Regions from separate parts of the Homo sapiens genome. Here region 2 is linked to region 1. Evidence: promoter capture Hi-C in 16 types of primary human blood cells and fetal thymus (Javierre and others, 2016). All regions are on one chromosome and are shown on one strand. The core of a region is centred on a gene start or on the middle of the fragment in contact, and the rest is flanking DNA. Distances in the headings are between cores, read along the strand shown. Region 1 holds the start of KCTD21 (potassium channel tetramerization domain containing 21). Region 2 overlaps GAB2 (GRB2 associated binding protein 2).

What was found. Contacts are between HindIII fragments. The CHiCAGO score rates a contact against its expected background, and 5 or more counts as called.
Region 2: a contact is called between a fragment that was not itself captured here and the fragment with the promoter of KCTD21 in region 1, in 3 of 17 cell types (neutrophils, fetal thymus and activated CD4 T cells). The highest score is 6.9, in neutrophils.

Annotation. Positions count from the first base shown.
Region 1 is chr11:78,185,711-78,191,780 of GRCh38, forward strand. It overlaps KCTD21 (potassium channel tetramerization domain containing 21), which reads right to left and starts at 2,916. Exons shown (of 2, transcript NM_001029859.3): 1 at 2,863-2,916. USP35 (ubiquitin specific peptidase 35) reads left to right here and starts at 3,209. Exons shown (of 11, transcript NM_020798.4): 1 at 3,209-3,447. RefSeq lists silencers at 2,633-2,972, 3,403-3,562. The HindIII fragment of the contact is 4,363 bases long and covers 1-3,945 here.
Region 2 is chr11:78,288,153-78,294,142 of GRCh38, forward strand. All of the region lies in intron 1 of GAB2 (GRB2 associated binding protein 2), which reads right to left. Among named protein-coding and RNA genes, the nearest start is that of USP35, 100 kb to the left of the region's middle. RefSeq lists an enhancer at 2,111-2,405. The HindIII fragment of the contact is 9,513 bases long and covers 1-5,990 here.

The DNA.
Region 1 (6,070 bases), core at 1,666-4,165:
CCTCCTGAGTAGCTGGGATTTCAGGTGCGTGCCACCATGCCCGGCTAATTTTTGTATTTTTAGTAGAGACGGGGTTTCACCACGTTGGCCAGGCTGGTCTCAAGCTCCTGACCTCAAATGATCCACCCACCTCAGCCTCCCAAAGTGCTGGGATTACAGGCGTGAGCCACCGCGCCCGGCCAGGTCTGCCTATCTTCTGTGCTGTGATTCTGCCTGGAAGAAGATGGCTGTTCAGGCCTTGTTTTTCCTGCCTCATCATGAACCCAGAATCTCTGTAACTCGGCAGGAAAGAAACTCCTGTCATGACTCACTGTGAATGTTGACAAAGAGAGGCCACTCCTGGGCCTCAGAAATGTCAAGGATGGGCAGAAAGAACTGGAGACAGGCCAGGCTCAGTGGCTCATGCCTGTAATCCCAGCACTTGGAAGGCCCAGGTGGGAGGATCGCTTGAGTTCAGGAGTTTGAGACCACCTGGACAACATAATGAGACCTCGTTTCTATAGAGAAAAAAAAAAATTAGCTGGGCATGGTAACACGTGCTTGCAGTCCCAGCTGCACAGGCTGAGGTAGGAGGATCGCTTGAGCCTGGGAGGTCAGGCTGCAGCAAGCCGAGATCACGCCACTGCACTCCAGCTTGGGCAACAGAGTAAGACCCTGTCTCAAAAAAAAAAAAAAAAAAAAAAAAAAAAAAAAAAAAGAAAAGAACTGGAGAGGCTGTGTGGGGTAGGGGCAGACCATGCATGGTATTCGGCATTACCTGGGTTTGCATTTGAATCATCCCCTGCCACTTACTAGCTGTGCAGCCCTGGGCACGTTCCTGGGCAGATGATGATGATCATAACAACAACAAACACTACAACGGCAATAATAATGGCTAACGTTTATTGAGCAGTTACTACCGTGCTAGGCACTCTATACATGTTAATCTCTTTCAATCTCACAGATTAAGTAGATACTATTATATACCTACTTTACAGACCAACCATACTGGGCCCTCTTCGACTTCTGCAATTTGGCATCTGCCATCCCCTCTGCCTGGACCTTGAAGACAAATCCCATGCATCGGCCAGGTCTCTCAGCTGGAATTCATTCCTTCTCCTCTGCATCTGCGGAGAATTTTAGTCTAACCCCTTACCACAGCCAACTTTACTTAAGTAGATGGATGCCTGGCTCCCTTGCTGGGGCTGGGGGTGCCCCTTTCTATATCCACAGAAGCACGTAGAATAGGGGAAGAGGAAGAAATTTCTCTCCTGTTTAGTCAGATCCATTTTCCCCACCTGGATTTTCAAAACTTTTTAATTTTGAAATGCTCTGTTCAATTTTCAATCTGGAATCTAAAGGGATGTGACAAGGCCGAGGTGATTACTTGGGAGTAAATGCAAGGAGAGTTTCCACTGCGTAAGGGAATGGACAGCACGTGGCTGGGTAAATTTCAAAAAAGACAATGCTCAGAGTGAGTACTGTGTTTTCCAGTAAGTGGGAGACTTCCCCACCTTACCCCACCGGAGAAAGGACTCTTTGCCTTGAAGCCCCTAGGACGACTACCCTTTCTTCACCTCCTCTTCCTGACCACCCCACATCAAAGAGCTGCGTCTATAATTCTGTCTTGCCCAGTCCATATCTCTAAGAAATCCGAAGGCTGCTCTATTACCATCACAACCCATAGGGAGGAGAGAAAAGGTGCTTCCTAGACACAGGGACCCCAGAATGAGCTGCGCAAAAGGCAGGAGGAGAGAAAGGTGGGCTGGAAGAAGGAGACCACGGAATCTGGCACGGCAAGGTATTCTTTCATCTGGCGTAGACCTCCAACAACCACTACCATCCCCCAGCCCCTTCCAGAACTTTCCTTCACCTTCTCGGCTCACTCTCACGCTTCACCTTGTGCTTTTCCTCCGGCACCAGCACCCCATTTCAAACCGCTCTCTTCCTATGTCTCCTCCAAACAGTAATTTATAAACACCGTGCTTTCAAATCCATCTCATTTCATCCTCACAGTACTATAGGAGGGCTGCCTTACAGGCTGTCATTCGGAAGGGTTGGGGGGACTGGTCCTGCCAGACAATTTGCGAAGGTCGGGGCATCAAAACTTTTCTTTCCTGCCTCCCACGCCAAGCTAAACCTCTGCCTCCCCGAGTGCAGGGAGAAAAGCAAGGTCTTTGAAGTAAGGAGTCCTGAGTGGTTTTAGGCAAGTCCCTTCGCTTTTCTGAGCCTCACATTCCTCACCTGTCAACCGCTATAGTGACGCCTCTACTTTTCAGGGCGTGGGAGGTCAATGAGATCACTGGTGTGCCGCACTGAACTCGGGGATGGACTCTTTATTTCCAGTCAGTAAAGGGAGGTGTTCTATGCATCACAGGCTTTTGCCCACGCCGCCACAGCGCGGCCGGCCCAGGGCTCTCCAGAGCGGGGCAAGTTCCCTGTCATCTGTGTCTCCGCCCTTCCTTCCCCAATCTCACCCAGGCTGGCCTCATCGGCTTGTTCCGCACCCACTCCCCAGCCCTACAGCCCCCACTCCGACCTGACAAGTGCCCCACCCCCACCTAGAGATCCCGCCTCTCCTTGCCCCACCCACCAAGGACTCCTCCCACAGTCCCGACCCTCATTATCCGGGCTTTTCCGACTATCACCATCCGCCCTTGCTCTCCCAACAGCCCCGCCCCTCTAAGAGCTCTGCCCACTTCGGCTCACCTCGCTCCGAAACGCGCCCCCTCCCCCGCACCACAGGCGATGCCATCCCCATTTCACAGATGGGAATGGCGAGGCTGGGATAGATTAGTCTCATGGTAAGACAGGTGCTCAGTGGGCCCACGTACCCTCGCCGGTAGTCCCCGAGCCCCGCGACCCCGGCCGTGCCGCACCCACCTCCTGCCCTCGCTCTGCAGCCTCTCCCTCCGCGAGCGGCCAGCGCAGCTTTGCGAGGGGGGCGGAGGGTAGGAGCCCAGCCCAGGGGCGTGGCGGTCCGGGGTCTGTGCGCTGCCTTCCGGGACTGGTAGTTCTCTCTGGGCTCCTCGCAGCTCGGCGCGTCGAGAGCGAACTCCATCTCCCAGGAGGCATTGCAGCGAGTTGCTCTGCGCCCCGCCTCGTCCCCGCCGGTGTCCGGCCGGCTGGCCTTAAAGGGGACGCGGTCAGAGTGGCAGCTCGCGGGGTGGCCCCCGCTCCGGCTCCGCCCCATTTCACGCACCTCGCCCCTCCCCATGCTTCATCCCGCAGCCCCGGGGCCGCGCCGCAGAGTCGGGCTTCCTGGATACATAGAGGCTTGTGCCAGGCGGGGTGGGAAGACTGGATTTTGCAGTGGAAGCAGCATCTCTTCCGTCTGGGACCTGGCTGAGGGCGTCCCCACCCTGGGGGGAGCAGAGGACCAGCCCTGACCTAGCCGGGCCCAGCCTCGTCCTGCCCGGCCTGAGCGCCCCGCCCAGCAGCCGGCTCTGGCCCACCGGGGTCCGGGAGGTAAGGGGGTTGGGGGCGTGTGACTGTCTTTGGGGGGCGGTGTCTGCACCCTGGCCTTTCGAGAACCCTGGACTTGCGAGCCCAGGGCTGGGAGTCGGGAGATCTGGGTGCATCCTGGGCCTCCTGGGCCTCACTGTGTGACCTTGGGCGAGTAGCTATTCCTCTCTGGGCATTAATCCCCTCCCTTCATCAATTGTATGTCGAAGTGATCCTGCTCCCTCCCCTTTCAGGTAAGAGGGCATTCGCACCCAGTACCTAGTACATTCGCTTGCTGGCTTTTCGTGGGGCCCTCCAGCTCAAGCGTGGGCTGGGCGCGGGTGCACTGGAGGGAGGGAGGTGGCACAAACTGGGGGGCCCGAGGCCACCATTGCTTGGAATGGGCTTTTCCTATTCTCAGTGTGCTGGGCCCTGGGATACCCTCCCCAACCCCCTCTTACGGCCCTGGCCCTTGCAAACCGGAGACCCTGATGTGTCAGCTTGGTGCCCTTCCTTCCAGAAAGCTTGGGGTGGAGTGCGGCCCTCACAGGTTTGTGAGGGGTGGCCCCGCAGGGATAGGTGTGTGTGGTGGGTTCCTGAGGAGGAATAGCTGCTCCTGCTTTCTTCCCTTCTCTCTCCTCCTTATCCTTTGAGGAAGAGCAGCTGCTTTTTACCAGTGAAACCCTTTTTTCTTTTTCTTTCCAGGAGACAGTTTGGTGGCCCAGACATGGGCCTCCCGGAGTAGGGTGAAGCACTTCTTCCCAGGGTTGCCTTGGGTAGAAGTTCAGTTAAAAAATACCTAGAGAGATGCTGCCATTCAGACACCTGAGGGGCCAGAGATGGAGGGCACCACCTGGTGTCGGGAGGGGCAGCCTGGTACCCCCAAGGAAGCTCTGGCTCCCAGGGGAGTCAAAGGAGGGAGGCTGGCTTCGAGGGTCAGAGAGGGGAGGAAATGTGCTCCTCAGCTCTTAGGTGCTGAGCAGAGGCTGGGAGGGGCTGCTCTGACCTGGAGCAGGGAGAGGTTGAGTAACACCATGAAGCCTTCTTCTCAGGTCCTAGGAGATTCTGTGAGCTTTTGACCTGAAGGCTAACCAGGAACAGATTTTTGTTTTGTTTTGTTTTGTTTTTGTTTTGTGCTTTTTCTTTTGCTTTGGTTGTTTGAACAATTTCTAGAATGGCTAAAGCCTCAGTCCAGTCCAGTGACCTCTGTAGGGGCTTTCTTGACTGATGTTTAAGATTTTCAGGGTTTTTGATATGCAAGACCAGGCCTGGGCAAAGGAGGGGGTGGTGACTGGACCAAAGGTTAGGCCAGTTTCTGGAAGGTACTTTTGTGGTTACATCTTTGGTTTTCTCTCATCTTGCTGTCACATGTCTCTCATGAGTTGCTTGACGCACCTTCACGGACACCTCAGTCCTTGGTTCTGTACTGGGCACTGGGCTCAGAGACGGGGATTGGACCTCTGCCAAGGGAGGTCCCAGCCTGGTGGGAGACAGAGACATGGATTCCAGTTATGCTGCAGAGGGATGAGAATAGCTAAGAGGGCCTTGGAGGCCAGAACTTTAGACACTTGAATTGTGGAGGGAAAAGGAAAGGCTTCCCAGAGGAGAGGGCATGTGAGCTGGGCATTGAAGGGTGAGTCAGAATTTTCCAGGAGAGAAGAGGGAAAAGCCCTTTTTCAGTAGAGGGGACATTGTGCAAAGTAGCAGTCAGGAAAAAGCCCCCTGCTCCAATGTCTGCAGAGTCTCCACTGAACAATGTTGCTTGAGTTCATCTCCACCCCTGCCCCACATCAGCTGAGTGTCACAGAAAGGGCTTGCATGTCCGGCTCAGGAGTTTGGACCTTATTCTGGGTCCAAGGGGCTGGAGAGTGTTGAGAGTTCTGAGCAGGGGCATGGACGGAATGGTGCTTACCGTGTAATAAGCTCCATCTGACGATGCTGCATCTGGAGAGACCAAGGAGGGATGATGAAGCTTGAGCGGGGGCCCAGGGCGTGGCAGTGGGGCTGAGCATAGGAGTTGTGTACACACACATACACACACACACACAGGGTGCTTTGGGGTGATGGAGATAAGTCAGGCTCAACTGTGCAGGAGCAGAGATCAGTCAACACTCGGCAGAAATGTTGAGGGTCATCCGAGAGGAACAGGTGAAAGGATCTGGGCCTTTTGGCAGAGGGATTGGGATTTTCCTGAGTGCTCACTGCGTGCCTTGGAGTGTGCTGGTGTTGCTGGGACGCCCCTCAGGCTGTCATGCCAGTAGGGCGAGGGGTATGAGGCAAGGGCTTGGGAGGAGCAGCAGCGCTGGCTGGGAAAGGCTAAGGGGTGGGCACGTAGTCACCTTCTATTTGGGCATTCCGAGGATCACAGAGGTAAAAGAACACCTACCTCCATGGTGGCTGGGCTAGACTCGAAGCCTGGACTCTGTTCTCCTCTAGGACACATGCCTCTGTTGGAGGATGGATTGAGGGAGGGAATTGGGAGATGGGTTAGGAGGCTACTGCACTAGTCCAGGCAAGAAGTCAAGGGGTCTGATCCTGGGTGGGGCTGGGAACACCGAAGTGGCAGGGAGGGCTAATGGAGGAAATGCCTTGGAGAATCAGCAGGATCAGCAGTGCGTGTCTCCTTGTCTCCTTTCCCTGACAGTAT
Region 2 (5,990 bases), core at 2,279-4,778, 100 kb after region 1:
GTGGATTGCTTGAGGTCAGGAGTTCAAGACCAGCCTGGCCAACATGGTGAAATCCCATCTCTACTAAAATACAAAAATTAGCTAGGCATGGTGGTGGGTACCTGTAATCCAAGCTACTAGGGAGGGTGAGGCAGGAAAATTGCTTGAGCCCAGGAGGTAGAGGTTTCAGTGAGCTGAGATGGTGCCACTGCACTCCAGCCTGGGCAACAGAGTGAGACTCCATCTCAAAGAAAAAAAAAAAAAAAAGAAGAAGAAGAAGAAGAAAGAAAAAGAAAAAACACAAAAAATCTACAACAAAACCCAACAAAACTCTCAGGACGAATAAGTGAGTTCAGCAAGGTCACAGGATACAAGATAATCATACAGAAATCAATTTACTTCTAACTAGCGATGAATATGCAGGCATATAAAATAAAAATACAATGCCATTTATAATTGTTCTTAAAAATTGAAAAGGTATAAATCTAAAAAAATCGCTGTGCAGGGCATGTATGCTAAAAGCTATACAAAGCTAATGAAAGAAATCAAAGGAGACTTAAATAAATGAAGAGACATACCATATTCATGGATTGGACAACTCGACTTGGTGCATCTCCCCAAACTGACGTACAGATTTAACACAATTCCCATCAAAATCCCACAAGAATGTCTGTAGATGTACGTAAGATTGTTCTAAAATGTATATGAAAAGGCAAAGGAAGCACAATAGCTAAAATAATTCTGAAAAATAAAATGGGAAGAATCAGTCTGCCAGATTTTAAGACTTATTATATAGCTACAACAATCAAGACTGTGTAGCACTGGCGAAGAGACAGACACAGAAAAGTGGAATAGATCAATTCTTGGCCGTTTGGCTAAGATCAAGTGAAGAACAATGGATTAGAACAGAAAACCCAGAAACAGACCCTCACAATATGCCCAACTGATTTTTCACAAACGTGTAAAAGCAATTCAATCAAGAAAACAGCTAGTTGTCATGGTTCGTGCCTGTAATCCCAGCACTTTGGGGGGCCAAGGTAGGTGGATCACTTGAGGCCAGGAGTTCGAGATTGGCCTGGCCAACATGGCAAAACCCTGTCTCTACTAAAAATTTTAATATAAAAAAGAAAAGAAAAGGCCTTTTCAAGAAATGGTGCCAAAGCAATCAAGCATCCATAGGGGAGTAAAGACCTTAATCTAAGTCTCACATCTTATACAAAAACTAACTCAGAATGAATCATGGACTTAAACGTAAAATGTAAAACTATAAAACGTTTAGAAAAAAAGGTGAAAATCTTTGGGATCTAAGGTACATTTCATGAGAAATCAACAAGCTCCTTGTATAGAATTCAGTAAAAACAAACACAAAATGTGTTGAATGCTTTGACAGATAAAGAGGCAAGGCCCAAAAATACTCCTTTGAAGTAACTTACAATATTTACAAAGTTTCAGGAAGTTAAGACATTAATATATATCCCTAAAACTAGAAGATTTTTTTGTAAGCACCATAAAAAAAGACATAATACGCTAGTAGACCACTGAAGCAGGGAATCAAACTTTCAGGGTTAAGAGAGAGAAACAGCATGAGAGAAAGCAAACATGCACGAGAGAGAAGGAGCAATGAACACAAACAATGAGGAAGGTAGGGTTTGATATGCGGTTTTGGAAAGGAAGAACAGGACCTTTTTTTTTTTTTTTTTTTTTTTTTTAAATACAACATACAGTATGACCAATGACCAAGGCCTGGGCATGGGAACAGATAAAATAGGTTCAGAGAATATGGCACAGTCTTCTCAATATGGAAAAGAGGGAGGAAAGGAAGAGTTTGGAGGTCCTGAAAAGCCTTGAATGCCACCCTAAGAAGTTTCATCTTTCCTTTATTTGTAACGGGGAGCCATTGAAGAGTATAGATCAGCAGAGAAATGTTAACCAATGCTGTGCTCTCATCTGGCAAAGTGCGGGAGACAAACCAGAAAAATAAAAAATAAGAGACAAGAAAACAATTAAGAAGCTGTTGCGATAGTCTGCAATGGTGAGAGAAGATGGCAATCTAAATTAGGGTAGTAATAACGGAGACAAAAGACAATGAAAGTCACTTTACTTAACAGTGGGGCTTAAAGAAGTATATGGATAGGGTCTACTGTCAAGAAAGTTGGAAAAAAGAATTTGTGTCTAGGATCAAGGGTATGCCACTCCCATCTCTGATGAAATAGAAGTGACTGTTTTCCTTCTGTCAGAAAACAAACCATTTCACAACCATCAAGACCACAAAGTGTGGGTACATATGACCTGGAAGTTGCATCACTCCTAGCTGTTGAACAGACAGTACATGTCACATGAACCTGTCTCTATCCTTTGGGTTAGATCTCAAGGTCTTCAAGCATGTAGAATGAGGCTATAACTTCCTCTTATTGCTCTTGGCGCCCAGAAAACCTAGGTGGGCCACAATTTAGCTGTGCAAGAGTGTTATGCTCCCTTCTGGTGACAATGAAGGCCCGTGAAAGTTTATCACACCAGGATTCTGCAAGATTCTGCCTGGAGTCATGATCATAGTGTTGTTCTAAGATATAAAGGGCCGCCAATATGTGGAAGAGCGATTTGATTTATTTTTAGTTACTCAACATACTCAAGTTGAACAAGTACCAGCAGGAGCAGTCTACGGAAAACCAAATTTTATTTTTTTTAGAACGTAAGAACTTTCTAAATGAGTGGTCCAAAGCAGGTCTCTTGGAAACTGGAGAATACTCAACACTGGAGATTTTGAAGAAAGAGGCAAGGTGAGGGATCAGCAAACTTTGTTAAGGATGTTAGCAAATATTTTGGGTTTTACAGGTCATATTTTCTCTGTCATAACTACTCAGTTCTATAGTGGCATGACAGCAACCATACACAATTCATAAGCAAACAGGCATGGCTGTGTTCCAATAAAACTGCTTAGAAAAAGAAGTGGTGGCAGGATTTGTTTGTTGACTCCTGGCCTAAACAAAGGGTGGGAAGGTTGGGGAGTGTGACAGAAGAAGGGCTCAAAGAGTAGATCAAGGCTGGGCGTGGTGGCTCACGTCTGTAATCCCAGCATTTTGAGAGGCCGAGGCAGGCAGATCACGAGGTCAGGAGATTGAGACCATCCTGGCTAATACGGTGAAACCGTCTCTACTAAAACGACAAAAAAAAAAAAAAAAAAAAAATTAGCCAGGCGTGGTGGCGAGCACCTGTAGTCCCAGCTACTCGGGAGGCTGAGGCAGAAGAATGGCTTGAACCTGGGAGGCAGAGCTTACGGTGAGCGGAGATCGCACCACTGCACTCCAGCCTGGGCAACAGAGCAAGACTCTGTCTCTGTCTCAAAAAAAAAAAAGAGTAGATCAATAGATGGACAAGAGACTACCTAAGGTCTATTCTCCCCTATCTTGAGAGACTTACTTTTTTCTTTTTCTTTTTTTTTTTTTTTTTTTTTTTTTTTTGCGACAGGGTCTCCCTCTGTTGCCCAGACGGGAGTGCAGTGGCGCAAACATGGCTCACTGTAGCCCCGACCTCCTAGGCTCAAGCGATCCTCCTACCTCAGCCTCCCATTTAGCTGTGATCACAGGATGCGCCATCATACCCAGTTAATTTTTTTTTTTAGAGATGGAGTCTCACTATGCTGGCTAGGCTAATGTCAAATTCATAGGCTCAAGTAATTCTCCCACCTCAGCATCCCAAAGTGCTGGAATTACAGATGAGCCACTGTACCCAGCCCCTTATGTATTTTTTAACTAAGAAAACATGATATGGTAACACCTCATTTAATCAGATTACTCAGATTCTTAGAACAGAGGGATGTGTTCTTCTGAATAACCACATCTCCACCTGGGAGCTTCACTAAGAGGTGTGTAGGGGTGTGTGTGTGTGTGTGTGTGTGTGTGAGAGAGAGAGAGTCAGTCTTTGTTATTGGTGAATTTTTAAAAAATAAGGCAAAGAGCTTTTTGAAGATACAACTGTTATGTTCTTCATATACCCGCCTAACAGGTTTAAATTATAGGTATCACCCAGTAACCTCAGTTAGATTCAGATTAACCATAAACCTCACTTCATAGGATTCTCTAGGTTTACTGGCAGTTTTTGGTTTTACCCTCTTCAGAAAGCGGGAAGTTAAAAGGACACGCCTATTCCAGGAGTTTCGCAAAAGCCTCTTCCAAGTAATGTCTTGCCCCTTCTACAACCTTAGCCACAAGGCACGTGAGATTTGGTATCAGAAAAGATGATTTGAGACCTTGAGAAGTCCTTAGTCATCAAAGAAGAGTTCTGTTATCTTTGGTATACCAAAGTCAGGGCAGAAGATAGAAGATTCTGGAGGTTTAGAAATATTTTCAACTGTCAACTCTCAGGTGGTGATGTGGTTGAGTTCTAGCTCAAACAAACACAAAGACACAGGGGAATCTGATCTCACTTCTGAACATATGATGTACAAGTCTATCCTAATATATTTCAACACGAAGCTACTATGCCAGTCTCGTGTCCCATAATAGTTAACAGCAAACATTACAAGAGTACAGTGGGAGTCATGTAACAGTTACACATTTTTGAAGGCACACTTCCTGAGCGAGGAAAGGCTTTTTGCTATCCTTCCTCTAGCAATCCTTCGACTACTCTGGACCATAGAGACTTTATACTCTCTGAGGAAATTTTTAAAAGTGTATTTGCTGAGCTCTTGCTACCTGCCATGTGCTTTCTACTCATTATCACATTTAATCCTTTAACAAATGCTGCAAGGTAAATAGGATCCTCTTAACAGGTGAGGAAAAAGAAGTTCATAGAGATTAAACAACTTACAGAGACCACAGCCCAAGATCTTCTTATTCTGTGGGTCCAGACCCACAAAGAACTTGAGGTGAAGCTACTGCAGATGAATTGCTCACTACACTTTGAGAAACACTGGCCACAGAGTTTATGAATTCAAGTTTATAGTTAATTGGTGATGGCAGATGGCAATAATGCAACTAGAATCTAGGCCTCAGCTCCTAGTCCAAAGTTATTTCCACTCCTCAAATGCAGATCCCCTAGAAGAGAGCAGCATAGTTAACTGTATTTGTTCTGGACTCATTCATCTGAGAAAGGGCAGATAAGTACAGTTTCCCTCGGACTCTAAAGGAACTTATTTGCTCCTCGGGCACAGAATGAATTTTTTCTTACCCCAAGACTATGACATTCTGAGGTCAGGGGCTTTTGTATCTCCAGCATTTATTTAGCACAGGACTTGATACTTCCAAAGCACTATATAACTGTTCAATGAAAGTTATACCAAAGGAACAAAATAATGTTTATTTGCTTCTGTTTTGGGGGAAAAAAACCTCTCAGTCAGATGATCTGTTAATTTAACACAATCTCTATTCCAGGTAAGATGGTACACAGACACCATAAACACAAAAGATCACCTAGAATCCTTTATATAAAGCTGACTCCAACTATAGGCTTCAAGGAGTAGATCATGGTAATCTAGATTAAGCCAATTTGCACCATTTCATCCTACATGCCACTGTGATCAGTTTAGCGACAAGCGTTATGTTCCAAGCCAGCTCAGAGTCATTAAGATTCAACTCCAGGACCTTTGTTTTGTGTTACTCAAACTGGCTGTGTCACTGGACAAAGGGTTGTCACAATATTTCCCTGAAGTTGCAGGAACCACTATTTGTCGCCTAAGAACAGCCAACCGAGAGAGAGCAAGAGAAAAAGAGTACGTGTGAGAGTGAGGGAGAGCGAGAGCATGCAAGCAGGTTAAAAGATGGATATTGATGAAATATGAGTCTTTTTTTATTTTTATTTTTATTATACTTTAAGTTTTAGGGTACATGTGCACAACGTGCAGGTTAGTTACATATGTATACATGTGCCATGTTGGTGTGCTGCACCCAGTAACTCCTCATTTAGCATTAGGTATCTCTCCTAATGCTATCCCCTCCCCGCTCCCTCCACCCCACAACAGGCCCTGGTGTGTGATGTTCCCCTTTTTGTGTCCATGTGTTCTCATTGTTCAATTC